5 separate regions of the Homo sapiens genome follow, and all the other regions are linked to region 2. The links are contacts of gene promoters, found by promoter capture Hi-C in blood cells and fetal thymus (Javierre and others, 2016). All regions are on one chromosome and are shown on one strand. Each heading gives the region's core, a stretch centred on a gene start or on the middle of the fragment in contact. The rest is flanking DNA. Distances are from core to core; before and after follow the strand shown. Region 1 has its middle 81 kb from the start of STK39. Region 2 holds the start of CERS6-AS1 (CERS6 antisense RNA 1). Region 3 has its middle 63 kb from the start of STK39. Region 4 overlaps LOC105373734 (a long non-coding RNA gene). Region 5 has its middle 43 kb from the start of STK39.

Region 1 (2,723 bases), core at 34-2,533, 460 kb after region 2:
CCTACTTTAGAATCAATCATTTGAATTCTTTTTCTGGGATTTATTAATTTCTTTTTGATTGGGATCTGTTGCTAAAGAATTATTGTGTTCCTTTGGAAGTGTCATATTTTCTTGCTTTTTGGTTCCTGTGTCCTTATATTGATATCTGCACATTTGGTGTAACAGTTGCTTCTTCCAATTTTTTTGAATTTGCTTTCATGGGGGAGGACTTTTTCCTGAAGATGTATCCATGATGTTGGTTGGGTAACACACTGTCTTTGATTCTTGGTGTGTGCAGTAGTTTAGTCTCTGTATGATTTCTTCAGCTGTAAACAGTATTAGTAGTATCTATAATTTCCTCCATGGCTTAGGGTGCAGTTATTACTGGAGACTGTGGTAAAGTTTTGCTGGGGCCTGGGACAGCAGGTAGGCCAGTCTTTGAGCCCCAGGGGTGGCAGTGGTGGGTTGAATGCACCTGTTCCTGGATCCCAGGGCTGCATATACTGGCACTTATATTAGTGGACCAAGGCAGCCCAATTTTTGGCCTCCATGTGGCTTACTTGGATGCTGGTAGTGGTAGCAGTGGACCAGGCAGGTGGGGGTGGTTCTTTAGCCCTTTGGCAGCCAGGATGGTGTGACAATGACAGTAGCAGTGGTATGATGACCACTGGGTCCCAAGCTGTGTGTGATAGTGTTGTCAGTGGCTGAGATGGGCTGGGCAGACCAGTCTTTGGGCCCACAGGTAGCACATGCAGGCAGGTGCCAGCTATAGTGTTAGTGGCTCAGTGAGTAGGTCCAAACTTGGGGTTTAGTGAGGAGTGTTCTTGTTCCAGTTATGTGGACTGGCGTGGACAACACCCTGGTCCCTGGATTGTGTGCTCTGGCACAGTGTGTTGGGGGATCTAAGCTCAGCCAGATGGGCTTGTCCTCAGGCTCTCTGATTGTGTGTGCAGGCACCAGCCATGGTAGGCTGGGGCAGAGCAATGCCCAGGCTACTGGCAGAATGGTCTGGTATGGACCACAAATGACTGCACTGCTGCCCTGCCACTGGGGAGGGTAGTGCTGCCTTCAGTGGTGAGTAGCGTAGGCCAGCAGGTGGAGAATGCACACACCATTCATGCCAGCAGTGCCTGCACTTCAACACTTGCTGCAGAAGCCAGTGCCTCACTCACATCTCAGTTGTGGGTGTTGTAGCTTGCAGTTGCTTATGCCTAGGCCTTGGGGGCAGCAGCCCATGCTTCACTTGTTCCTCAGATCTAGCGCTGTTGGGCCCCTGGATAGTACACAGCCCACTGGAGGTAGGGCTCTAAAATGACACCTTGCTGGAGCTGCTTATGTCTCAGAGAGTGTGTGGGACCCAATGCAAGCACCCCACCCTGACCCAGGAGCCAGGAGCAATGCCATCATACAATCTCCTGGCAGCTCCATATGTTAGTTTCAGGGCTTACAAGAGTCTAGGGGATTTCCCATGGCTAGGATTGCAAAAGTCCAAAGCAGAAATGTAGACCACTGAGAATCTCTCATTTACCCTTTCTCCACATTGAGGAGTCTCTCTCAGCTTCTAGCCAATTCCAGTTCAGCAGATTGCTTCACTTTCTTCTCCTTTCTTGCTTTAGGTAGTTCCTGTCACTTTTCCATTGAATTCTAGTGTTCTCTCTTGGATGATCTATTCCAAGTGTAATAATCTCACAATTTTGGTTCTTCTTAGTAGAAGAGGTGAGTACAAAATGTCTCTAGTCAGCCATCTTTGAGCCCCTCCAGAAAAAGCACTGTATTCAGCATTTATACATGGCCCCTCAGGGCTCCAAGAGTATGTGTTCATTGAACAAGGTGAAAGCTGCATGACTTTTATGATATAGCCTCAGAAGTTTCACAGTCCCACTTCTGTCATACTTTTTGATCCAAGCAGTCACAAGCCCACCAAGATTCAACAGGTGATGACATACTTGTCACCTTTTGATAAGAATGTCAACAAATCTGTGACCTGTTTGAAAATCACTATGATCATGTTTTTCCTCCCCTTACTTAAACACTTAAAGATCTCATCTACCACCTATATTAGTCAGGATACTCCAGAGAAACAAAGCCAATAGCATGTATATATGTGTATATATATATGTATGAAGAGAGAGAAAGGGATTTATTATAAGGAATTGGGTCATGTGGTTATGGAGACTGGCAAGTCCAATATCTGCAAAGTGGCTGGCAGGTTGGAGATCCAGGAGAACCTGTGTCCAGTTCGAATCCAAAGGCCGGTAGGCTGCTGTAGAACCAGGAAGAGCTGATGTAGATGAAGTCTGATCTACTTCCTGTAGAACCAGGAAGAGCTGGTTGTAGATGAAGTCCAAAGGAAAATCCCCGCTTGCTCAGGGAGGCCATTTTTTGGTTCCACTCAGGACTTCAACTTACTGGATAAAGCCCACCCACAATCTGTTCTAATCAAAGTCCACCAATGTAAATGTTAAGTTCATCCAAAAACCCTCACAGAAATACTCAGAAGAATGTTTGACCAAATATCTGGGTACCCCATGGTCCAGCCCAGTTGACACATAAAATTTACTATCCCACCACCTCTATATCACATTCCTAGTTTTAAAAATACCTTAAAACTCATTTTGTTTTATTGCCATGTATCAATAATTTGCATATTAAGTGACTTTTTTTTTTTATTCCTACCTTTCTGGTTTCATTAGAGGTTGGAGTCATGCTCCCTAAATTTCTACTTGGAGTGACTAGAGAGTCAC
Region 2 (2,700 bases), core at 64-2,563:
AAATCAACCCATTTTTCCTTTCCAAAAACTGAGGCATCTTCTCACAGCTCCTCTTTCTGTAAATGCATATTCATTCTACAGGAATTTATTGGGCACCTGCTGTGTAGTGGACACTGTGGCTGATAAGGATCAGCTATAAAAGGTAAGGCCTTTGCCCTCAAGATGCTTCCATTGAGTCCAGTGGGGAAGGCCGTGTGATAAGTGTTCTGATGGAGTTAAATGGTTGTACCTTTTCTTCTCAAGGAAGAGCACCAAATTCCCAAAGGCTAAGGCTTTCTGGGAAGACTAACTTCTAACACAAATTAGTCTTCAAGGCCAAGTAAGAGTTAGCGACATGAAGAAGAAGAGGAAAGAGGTCTCTGTGGCAGTGTAAGCAGTATGGCCAGAGTCCTGGAGCTGTCACAGGCATGGCACATTCTGAGACAGTGCCCATGGGGAGGGATGAGGATGGAGTGGAAGGTCAAGGTCAGGCCACTAAGGGGGAGAACAGGTGGTAGGAAGTGGGGTGGAGGCTGCCTCACTGCTTCACGCTATGCCCTTTGTCTCAAATGCCTTTCCTCTTTCCACTTGACTCATTCAAATACTATTCATTCTTCCTAGCTTTCTGCTTGAAACCTTTTCTTACCTGATCCCAGAAGCAGCTGTTACGAGCAGCGAATCCTTATGGGTCCGCAGCGAACTCAATTCTTAGCTCCTTAGAAGAAAGAATTTGGGGCCGGGTGTGGTGGCTCACGCCTGTAATCCCAGAACTTTGGAAGGTTGAGGCAGGTGGATCACTTGAGGTCAGGCATTCGAGACCAGCCTGAACAACATGGTGAAACCCCGTCTCTACTAAAAATACAAAAAATTAGCCAGGTGTGATGGCGGGCGCCTGTAGTCCCAGCTACTCTGGAGGAGGGGGGAGGCAGGGAAGAATTTGACCGAGGAAAAATAAGGCAGACTGAGAGACTGAGGCAAGTTTTAGAGCAAGAGTGAAAGTTTACTAAAAGGTTTTAGGGCAGGAACGAAAGGAAGTAAAGTACACTTCGAGGAGGGCCAAGCTGGCCACTTGAGGGATCAAGTGGCTGGCTTGACCTTTGCCTTAGGGTTTTATATATTGGCATACCTCTGGGATCTTGCATCCCTTTTCTCCTGATTCTTCCCTTCTGGTGGGCTGTCTGCATGCCCAGTGCCCTACCAGTGCTTGGGAAGGGCTGCATGCGCAGTGTGTTTACGGGAGTTATACGCATGCTCACTTGAGACGTTCTTCTATTACCAATCTAACGTTCCTAGAGGAAGGTCATATACCAGTTAAACTCCCCCATTTTGCCTCATAGTGCGCATGCTTGAGCCCACTTACCTAACACCTGAGATCTTATTGGGACGCTGCTGATAACCAGTTTCAGGTTTTTTCTGTCTGTCGGGAGATTGCCTTTCCCTCGTGCTGGCTGTGACTAATTATTGTTTTAGAGAAATAATGATTGTAACAGTGTAACAACCACCTGACCATCACTTGATGGTCGTCTGACATTCCTGGTTGGGCGTGCAGCCCTCTCCTGGCCTGCTGATGTCTGCCTGACTACTATAACACAACCTCTCTCTCCTCTGAACTTTTCTGGCAATTACTATTCTCACAACATATTTGATATAACGATGATACCAATGTCTTATATCTATAGATTTTATTTTTATTTTTAAAAGCCTTTTGCTGGCCGTGTGCAGTGGCTTATGCCTGTAATCCTAGCACTTTGGGAGGCCGAGGCAGGTGGATCACTTGAGGCCAGGAGTTCAAGACCAGCCTGGCCAATATGGTGAAACCCCATCTCTACTAAAAATACAAAAAAATTAGCTGGGTGTGGTGGCATGCACCTGTAATTCCAGCTACTCAGGAGGCTGAGGCACGAGAATCACTTGAACCTGGGAGGCAGAGGTTGCAGTGAGCTGAGATCCCGTGCCACTGCACTCCAGCCTGGGCAACAGAGTGAGACTCTGTCTTAAAAAAAAAAAAAAATCTTTAGAGCTAATAACTTCTGCCTGTGGCCTACCTCCCTAACTGTATTGAGACCCCCTTCAATGCAGCAGCTTTGCCCCTGACTTCCTCATACTCCTCACAAAGCCTAACATAATGTCTCGAACGATTGGTGCTCAATACATTTATTGACTTAATGTTGATGTGCATTTTACTGCTTTCATTAGTGTTCTGGCTCTGTGGGTAAACAATTTGGTACATGTAGCATAGTGTAAACTACTGGTTAGCATAGTGCAAACTATTTTATAACTCCTCAGAAATGACTTCTAAGTGATACAACTAAGAAATGGCAGCACTAGAAGTGTAGTACATCAGGGCTCAGTTCTATGTACCATCTAGTACCCTCAGCTGAGAGAAAAACAATACTCTTTGCTCTTAAAAACTCTAGGGACCCTTTTGAACTCATCTTTGGTGACATAGCTCCAATTAGTCTGAAATCTAACATAGGATTGCTTGATGGCTTGCCAGACAGTAACTAGCACTCTGGGTCAGGAACTTTGGCCAGAGCCAAGAGTTCAGTCCTGATGAATCAAATTAACAGCTATGACTCAAAAAGAGGAGGGCTGGGAACTGCTCTTTTATTTCCTATAACTCAAGTTACAGAAAATAAACTCGCTTTGTAGCATTTCATCCCTCACCTACTACCCACCCCTGGGACTTTTTCCCTATGAGTCTTTCAGCCCATTCTTAAA
Region 3 (2,700 bases), core at 82-2,581, 480 kb after region 2:
CAGAAAAGCACTGTCACAAGAGCCAAAAATCAGGTGAGAAATCATAGTACCTGGTTTTAATATCATATCACCAAAAGAGGCATTAAAGAGAGTTGGAGAGACAGTCTTGAATCACCAACACCACCCCTCCCCCATCCCTGGGCAGCAGCTGTGCAGGGTGGAGAGTCTGTGCACTTGGAGGACTTTACATTGAACTCACTGCTGCCCTGTCATAGAGGAAAACAAAACCATGCTGGGTTCAGCCAGCACCTGATCAAGGATGGGACATTTGGACCAGACCTAGCCAGAGGGGAATTGCCCATCTGGTGGTCAGAACTTGAGTTTCTTGGCAAGCCTTGCCACCGCAGGCCAAAGTGCTCTTGGGTCTTAGGTAAACTTGAAAGACAGTCTAGGACATGAGGCCTGCAATTCCTAAGCAACTCCTAGTGTTGAGCTGGGCTCAGAGAAGAGGACTAGGGTGACCTGGTACCTCACCAGCTGGAACAGCTAAAAGAGTGCTTGTGCCACTCTTTCTTCAACCCTAAGCAGTGCAGCTCACAGCAATGAAAGTGACTCCTTCCTTTTGCTTAAGGGGAGGAAATAAAAGAGTAAACAGGACTTCATCTTGTATCTTGGATACTAGCTCAGCCACAGTAAGATAGAGCACTGGGCAGAGTTATGAGGTATCCCCCCATTCCAGACCCTGGATCATGGACATTTATAGACACACTCTGGGAACCCACTGGAAAAATGGGAACCCCTTGCCTTGAAGGGAAGGACTCAGTCCTGGAAGGATTAATCACCTGCTGACTAAAGAGCCCTTGGGTCCTGAATAACCAGCAGCAACACCCAAGTAGTACACTGTGGGCCTTGGGCTTTGAGAATGTGCTGAGTTCAGGTGTGACGTGGCACATTTCCAGGTGTGACAGCTACAGTGAAAAACTCCTTTAGACTCCTTCCATTTGAGAAAAGCAGAGGGAAAGTAAAAGGGACTTTGTCTTGTACCTTGGGTACCAGCACAGCCACAGTGGGGTAGAGCAACAAGCAGGCTCTTGCAGTCCTCGAGTCCAGGCCTAGGCTCTTGGATAGCATTTTAGGGCCTGCCCAGGGCATGAGGGTAGCCTACTACCCTGAAGGATGAGTCCTGGTCCTCGTAGCATTCACTACAAACTGACTGAAGAGCCCTTGGGCTTTAAGTGAACATCTGCAGTGGTGTGGGAGAATACACCCCTCACCTCTGGGCCTGTGGTGGCAGTGGCCACAGGGAGATGCTCCTCTGCCTGTGGAAAGGGGAAGGAAGAGCAAGAAGGATTTTCTCTTCTGGTTTGAGTGCCAGCTTAGCTGCAGTAAAAAAGAACATCAGGCAAAATCCTAAGGTTTTTTACTCCAATCTCTGGCTCTCAGACAACAGCTCTGGACCTGCCCAGGGCCTTGAGGAACTTGTTGCCTTTAAGGGAAGGGCACAAACCTGGCTGGCTTTACCACCTGCTGATTACAGAGCCCTGGGGCCTTGAGTGAACTTAGGTGGTAGCCAGGCAGTGGTTACAGTGGGCCTTGGGTAACCTCGGTGCTGTGCTGGCTTCAGGTCTGACAAAGTACAGTCCCAGCAGTGGTGGCAACAGGGGTGCTTATATCACCACACCTACGGTTTCAAGTGGCTCAGCACAGAGATAGAGAAAGAGAGAGACTCCATTTGTTTGGGAAAGAGTCAGGGAAGAAAACAAAAGTCTCTGCATGGTAATCCAGATTATTCTTCTGAATTTTATCCAAGGTCACCAATGTGGTACCTCTGTGAGTCTGCAGGAACCATAGTGTTATTGGGGTTGGGGACCAAGTTGCTCTGAGTACCTGGAAAGCCTTGCCAAGAAGACAGACACAAACAAGCCCAGACTGTGAAGACTTCAATAAATACCTAACTGACACTTAAAAACATCCACAAGCATCAAGACCATCCAGGAAAATAGGACCTCACCAAACAAACTAAATAAGCCACCAGGGACAAATTCTGGAGAACCGAAGATATATGGCCTTTCAGAGAGTTCAAAATTTCTATTTTGGAGAAATACAATGAAATTCAAGATGACACAGAGAAGGAATTCAGAATTCTATCAGATAAATTTCACAAAGAGATTAAAATAATTGAAAAGAATCAAGCAGAAATTCTGGAGCTGAAAAATGCAACTGACATACTGAAGAATGCATCAGGTCTCTTAATAGCAGAATTGATCAAGAAGAAGAAAGAATTAGTGAGCTTGAAGGCAGACCATTTGAAAATACACAGTCAGAGGAGACAAAAGAAAAAAAGAATAAAAAAGAATGAAGCATGCCTACTAGGTCTAGAAAATAGCCTCAAAAGGACAAATCTAAGAGTTGTTGGGCTTAAAGAGGAGGTAGAGAAAGAGGAAGGGATAGAAAGTTTATTCAAAGGAATAATATCAAAGAATTTCCCAAACCTAGAGAAAGATATCAACATTCAAGTGCAAGAAGGTTATAAAACACCATTTGACCCAAAGAAGATTACCTCAAGGCATTTAAGAATCAAACTCCCAAAGTCAAGGATAAAGAAAGGATCCTAAAAGCAGCAAGAGAAAAGAATCAACATACAATGGAGCTCCAATACATCTGGCATCAGACTTTTCAGTGAAAACTTTATAGGCCAGGAAAGAGTGACATAATATACTTAAAGCACTAAAGAAAAAAACCTTTTATCCTAGAATAGTA
Region 4 (2,734 bases), core at 189-2,688, 400 kb after region 2:
TATTTTTGTATATTCCTTTTCCTTCCTGCTTTAAAAAAAAAAATGCAGTTTTGAGGATTCACTTCACCCTTTTACAGTGTTACTTCAAAAATGTTATATTCTTAACTGCGTATCCCCTTCTCAATCAAATGGAAAGTCTATTAATAATGAAGCCAAGAAACAGTACTGAAATTTTGAAAGTGTGTTCACTTTCTGTCCACTGATGAATTCTTTTATCAGAATTTCTATGAGCATCATACCTGTCCAAATTAAACCTTTCCTTCTTTCTTCAAAGAAAACACAAGAGGATTGAACTACTTCTTTTCCTCCTTTGACATGTATAAAAGATTTTCTCCTGGCAAAAGTGTATGTCAAATTTCAAACCAAAATCAGAAAGACAGAATGTTCATTTCTCTAGCAGGTTATAAAATCTCTGAACTAGAAAGACAAGAATCATTACAAGAAATACATTAATTCTTTTGCAATCGTATCTGAACTGAAACAGAGAAACGAGTAGAAAACTTGGATATTTTCCCCATAAAGAATACTTAAAATTAATAGTTATCCAGGTACAGGTATTGTTGGAATGGGCATTGAAATAGATAAGAGTAGAGAAAACTGTGTTTCAGGAGTACTGTTTTTTTTTTAGTTTAATTTTTAATTTTTAATTGATAAATAGTAATTATACATATTTATGGGCTACAATGTGATGTTTTGATACGTACATACATTTTGTAATTATCAAATTAGGTAATTAGTATATTTATCACCCCAAAGAGTTATCTTTTTTTTTTTTTTCAAGACGGAGTTTCACTCTTGTTGCCCAGGCTGGAGTGTAATGGGTGATCTCGGCTCACTGCAAACTCCACCTCCCGGATTCAAGCAATTCTCCTGCCTCAGCCTCCGAAGTAGCTGGGATTATAGGTGTGTGCCACCATGCCTGGCTAATTTTGTATTTTTAGTAGAGACTTCTCCGTGTTGGTCAGGCTGGTCTCCAATTCCTGACCTCAGGTGATCCACCCACCTCGGCCTCCCAAAGTGTGGGATTAAAGGCGTGAGCCACCATGCCCAGCCTAAGATTTATCATTTCTTTCTAGTGAAATTATTCAAAATCCTATCTTCTAGCTATTTTGAAATACATAATACATTGTTATTACCTATAGTCACTCTACTGTGCAATAGAACACCATATCTTATTCCTCCTATGTAATAGAAACTTTGTACCCATTGACCAACATCCCCTCTTCCATTTTTTTAACCCTCCCTCCTAGCCTCCGGTAACCACTGTTCTACTCTCGGCTTCCATGAGGCTAGCTTTTGTTAGAGTTCACATAATACGAGTGTGAACTCATACCATAAGAGAGAATGTGGTATTTGTCTTTTGGTGCCTAGCTTATTTCACTTAATGGCCTCTAGTTTCATCCATGTTGTCACAAATGATAGAATTTCCTGGTTATTTTATGGATGAATAATCTATTGTGTATATATGCCACATTTCTAAAATTCATTCATCCAGTGATAGACACTTAGGTTGTTTCCATATCTTGGCTATTGTGAATAATGCTGTAATAAACATGGGAGCTCAGACATCACTATGGCATACTAATTTCAATTCTTTTGGATATATACTCATTGGTGGAGTTGCTGGATCCTATGGTAATTAATTTTATTTTTAGTTCTTTAAGGGGCTTTCCTACTGTTTTCCAAAATGGCTGTACTAATTTAATTCTGACCAACAATGTACAAAGTTTCCCATTTCTCCATATTCTTGGCAACACGTGTTATCTTTCATCTTTTTGATGATAGCCAGTCTAACAGGTGTGAGGCATTATTAGCTCATTGTAGTCCTAATTTTCACTTCTCTCATGATTAGGGATGTTGAGCACTTTTTATTTGTCTGTTGGCCATTTGTGTGTCTTATTTTGAAAGCTATCTCTTCAAGTTCTTTGCCTAATTTTTAATAGGATTATTTGTTTTCTTCTTGTTGAGTAGTTTGAGTTCCTTGTATATTTTGGATATGAGCCTCTTACTAGATGTAGGATTTGCAAATACATTCTCCCAATCATGGGTTGTCTCTTCACTCTATTGATCATTCCTTTGCCATGCAGGAGCTTTGTAGCCCAATGTAATCCCATTTGTCTATTTTTGCTTTTATTACCCGTACTTAAAAAAAATTATTTCCATAGGTTATTGGGGAACAGGTATTTTTTGGTTACGTGAGTAAGTTCTTTAGTGATTTGTGAGATTTTGATGCACCCATCACCCGAGCAGTATACACTGCCCCCCATTTGTAGTCTTTTGTCCCTCACCCCCTTCTCACCCTTTCCCCCTGAGTCCCCAGAGTCCATTGTGTCATTCTTATGCCTTTGCATTCTCATGGCTCAGCTCCCACTTATGAGTGAGAACATATGATGTTTTGTTTTCCATTCCTGAGTTACTTCACTTAGAATAATGGTCTCCAATCTCATCCATGTCTCTGTAATGCCATTCATTCATTCCTTTTATGGCTAAGTAGTATTCCATCATATATATACACACGTGTATATATATATACACGTGTATATATATATATATGTGTATATATATATATACGTGTATATATATATACGTGTATATATATATATATATATATATATATATATATATATATATATATACACACACACGTATATATATATATACACCACGGTTTCTTTATCCACTCATTGATTGATAGGAATTTGGGTTGGTTCCATGTTTTTGCAATTGTGAATTG
Region 5 (2,700 bases), core at 9-2,508, 500 kb after region 2:
CTCATACAAGGTTGTTGAAATGTTATCGACCCAAAGAGCACACCAAGCCTGACTCAAAAGTGAAAGCTTCTGTAACAACGTTATAGATGAGTACCTACCAAATAGCACCATATTTTCTTCAGGCTCCTTCTGAAACCAGTCAGCTTATCACCCTAAATCTCATAACGAATAATAGAGGGAGGGGAAGGCTGGTGATGACTGATTTTTGGGGGGCTCTAAGCATTTTTATGGAACTCAGGGATGCACACTTCTGTCAATGAGGTCACTCCAACCACTTCAAATATCTCATGGTTCCCTGGTTTTAGATTAAAAAAATATTAATAGGGGGAGAAGAGCCATAGGTAGTTACAGTCTCTCAGGGATTCTGCAAATCTGTAGTTAGGACAAAGAAAAAGAGGGCCGGGCACGGTGGCTCACGCCTGTAATCCCAGCACTTTGGGAGGCCGAGGTGGGCGGATCACGAGGTCAAGAGATCGAGACCATCCTGGCTGACATGGTGAAACACTGTCTGTACTAAAAATACAAAAAAATTAGCCGGGTTTGGTGGCAGGTGCCTGTAGTCCCAGCTACTTGGGAGGCTGAGGCAGGAGAATGGCATGAACCCAGGAGGAGGAGCTTGCAGTGAACAGAGATCGCGCCACTGCACTCCAGCCTGGGTGACAGAGCGAGACTCTGTCTCAAAAAAAAAAAAAAAAAAAAAAAAAAGAAAAGAAAAGGAAAAGGGAAAACAGGAATGAAATAGATTTTAAAGTTTTCTATCTGCCAACAGGGTTTTCTCCAATTCCGATTTAACATGAGGCCTGTAATAGGAATGCAATCATCTTTATTTAATAAGTTATTTCTTTACTCTTTATTATTTACTCAGTGTCAAAAAATCTCACAGCATCTTTAGGAAAGTCCTGGCAAAAGCTTACTGGCTGGGGACCATGCAGGAACCCCTGGGACTCATCTCTATTGCTGGAGTTGAGCCAGCCTGAGGAATGGGACTTTTTGTGCTGCGACCTCATCTTAGCAGCACTGTCCGACCATTTATGTTCTTCCCTGGTCACTGCCGTGAAGAGGGCACCCGGAAATGGGAGCTCTGTCCATCGTTCATAATAAATTAGCTTCACAGAGTACCCAAGAGACTGAGGAATTCGAATTTAGAAATTCAAAAGGGTGCATCTCCTTAAACTCTTTAAACCAAATTCTAACGTTACTCTTCACAGACACCCTCTATTCCAAATATCATATATTCTTCCCCATATACCAAGATAATATTCTATTAACAGGTCTTCATGAAGTCCTGTCACCTGTCCTTAAATAAGGAATCGCGACGATAAAGAAAATAAAGTGAACAAATAAGAAGAGAAATATTTTAACAGAGATGTCCTTAGAACTAATTCTCTATGAAAAATGTTTATAGGATTTTCAACTGACAGACACTCTGACATGCAAACCTGGCTTAAAGTGTTGACAACATTGTTTTATAACCCAGCATAGCCCGTTTTTATGGTAGTTGTGTGATGACGCACATTCTCTGACTCTTTCACGTGAGGGAACAAGAATGCCATAAGCCACTTCACTATTTCATTTGTAAATTTCCAATGAATTTTTAAATAAGCTTTTTCACAAACATGATAGTCATTTAACAGAAATAGCATTCTAATTTAAAGGTATGACTTTTAGAAACATGCAGGTCATAAAGAGAAGCTGAGATGCCTAAATTGTGTAATAATAATTGAAACTCAATTTTTTTTTTTTTTTTTTTTGAGACAGAGTCTTGCTTTGTCACCTTGGCTGGAGTGCAGTGGCATGATCTTGGCTCCCTGCAACCTCTGCCTCCCAGGTTCAAGTGATTCTCCTACCTCAGCCTCCTGAGTAGCTGGGACTACAGGCGTGGGCCACCACACCCAGCTAATTTTTGTATTTTTAGTAGAGACGGGGTTTCACTATGTTGGCCAGGCTAGTCTCAAACTCCTGACCTCAGGTGATCGACCCACCTTGGCCTCCCAAAGTGCTGGGAATATAGACGTGAGCCGCCGTGTGTGGTCTGAAACTCAAATTTTTAAACAAGGTGATCCTACGTAATCTGTAAAATAGGCAGTGTGCCTTTTGTAGTTCTCTGCAAGTGACAAAAACCTAGTTTAAGCTCAAAGGGGAAATTATTGGTTCATGAAACCTAAAGGAGGTTTAAACCGGCACAAACACATGATATTCACTGATGTAGCTGGGCCTCAGGAACAAATGTACAAGGAAGTCCCCCAACCAAGACATTTTGTCATCCATTTTTGCTTCTCTGAGTATTGGTTTTATTCTCTGACGTAGAGCACTGACTTTCTCTCCATTAGAGGAAGAGTGCATCGCAGTTTCCCTAATATTGTATCTTGTATCTTCCACCATGGAAATACAAACTTAAAGCTCTCTGAGTTTTAACTGGAAATTCTTGAGGACTTTGGGACCTGGTCCAGTTACCTGTGCCCAAAGGGACATGAAATTATAATTGAGGCAGCTTTGACTAGGTGCCTACTCCAGACCAAACTTGACCAGGAAGGTAGCATCGTATAAGGACAGCACCTTGTTTCAGAAATGATTAAATGTAGAAAAATTAGAAAACTCACATGACTGGAAGCTTGCAATTGTTCAGGGGATGGGGGGCGGGGTGCTAGATAAATGTAACAGATACTCATGACACTCACTCAATCCCAGGGACATTCCTCT

What was found. The method cuts DNA at HindIII sites, captures the fragments that hold promoters and counts their contacts. A CHiCAGO score of 5 or more calls a contact.
Region 1: a contact is called between a fragment that was not itself captured here and the fragment with the promoter of CERS6-AS1 in region 2, in 14 of 17 cell types (naive CD4 T cells, naive CD8 T cells, total CD4 T cells and 11 more). The highest score is 12.1, in naive CD4 T cells.
Region 3: a fragment that was not itself captured here is called in contact with the fragment with the promoter of CERS6-AS1 in region 2 in 4 of 17 cell types (total CD4 T cells, non-activated CD4 T cells, total CD8 T cells and 1 more); the score reaches 6.8 in total CD4 T cells.
Region 4: a contact is called between a fragment that was not itself captured here and the fragment with the promoter of CERS6-AS1 in region 2, in 1 of 17 cell types (total CD4 T cells). The highest score is 5.2, in total CD4 T cells.
Region 5: a fragment that was not itself captured here is called in contact with the fragment with the promoter of CERS6-AS1 in region 2 in 1 of 17 cell types (activated CD4 T cells); the score reaches 6.6 in activated CD4 T cells.

The regions. Positions count from the first base shown.
Region 1 is chr2:168,327,082-168,329,804 of GRCh38, reverse strand. No RefSeq gene overlaps it. Among named protein-coding and RNA genes, the nearest start is that of STK39, 81 kb to the right of the region's middle. The HindIII fragment of the contact is 5,744 bases long and covers 1-2,723 here.
Region 2 is chr2:168,785,042-168,787,741 of GRCh38, reverse strand. It overlaps CERS6-AS1 (CERS6 antisense RNA 1), which reads left to right and starts at 1,313. Exons shown (of 3, transcript NR_045787.1): 1 at 1,313-1,385. It also overlaps a transcript of NOSTRIN not described here. The HindIII fragment of the contact is 3,155 bases long and covers 1-2,700 here.
Region 3 is chr2:168,308,915-168,311,614 of GRCh38, reverse strand. No RefSeq gene overlaps it. Among named protein-coding and RNA genes, the nearest start is that of STK39, 63 kb to the right of the region's middle. The HindIII fragment of the contact is 3,746 bases long and covers 1-2,700 here.
Region 4 is chr2:168,388,668-168,391,401 of GRCh38, reverse strand. The region is part of intron 2 of LOC105373734 (a long non-coding RNA gene); the gene reads left to right. Among named protein-coding and RNA genes, the nearest start is that of CERS6, 66 kb to the left of the region's middle. The HindIII fragment of the contact is 3,412 bases long and covers 1-2,734 here.
Region 5 is chr2:168,288,872-168,291,571 of GRCh38, reverse strand. No RefSeq gene overlaps it. Among named protein-coding and RNA genes, the nearest start is that of STK39, 43 kb to the right of the region's middle. The HindIII fragment of the contact is 694 bases long and covers 912-1,605 here.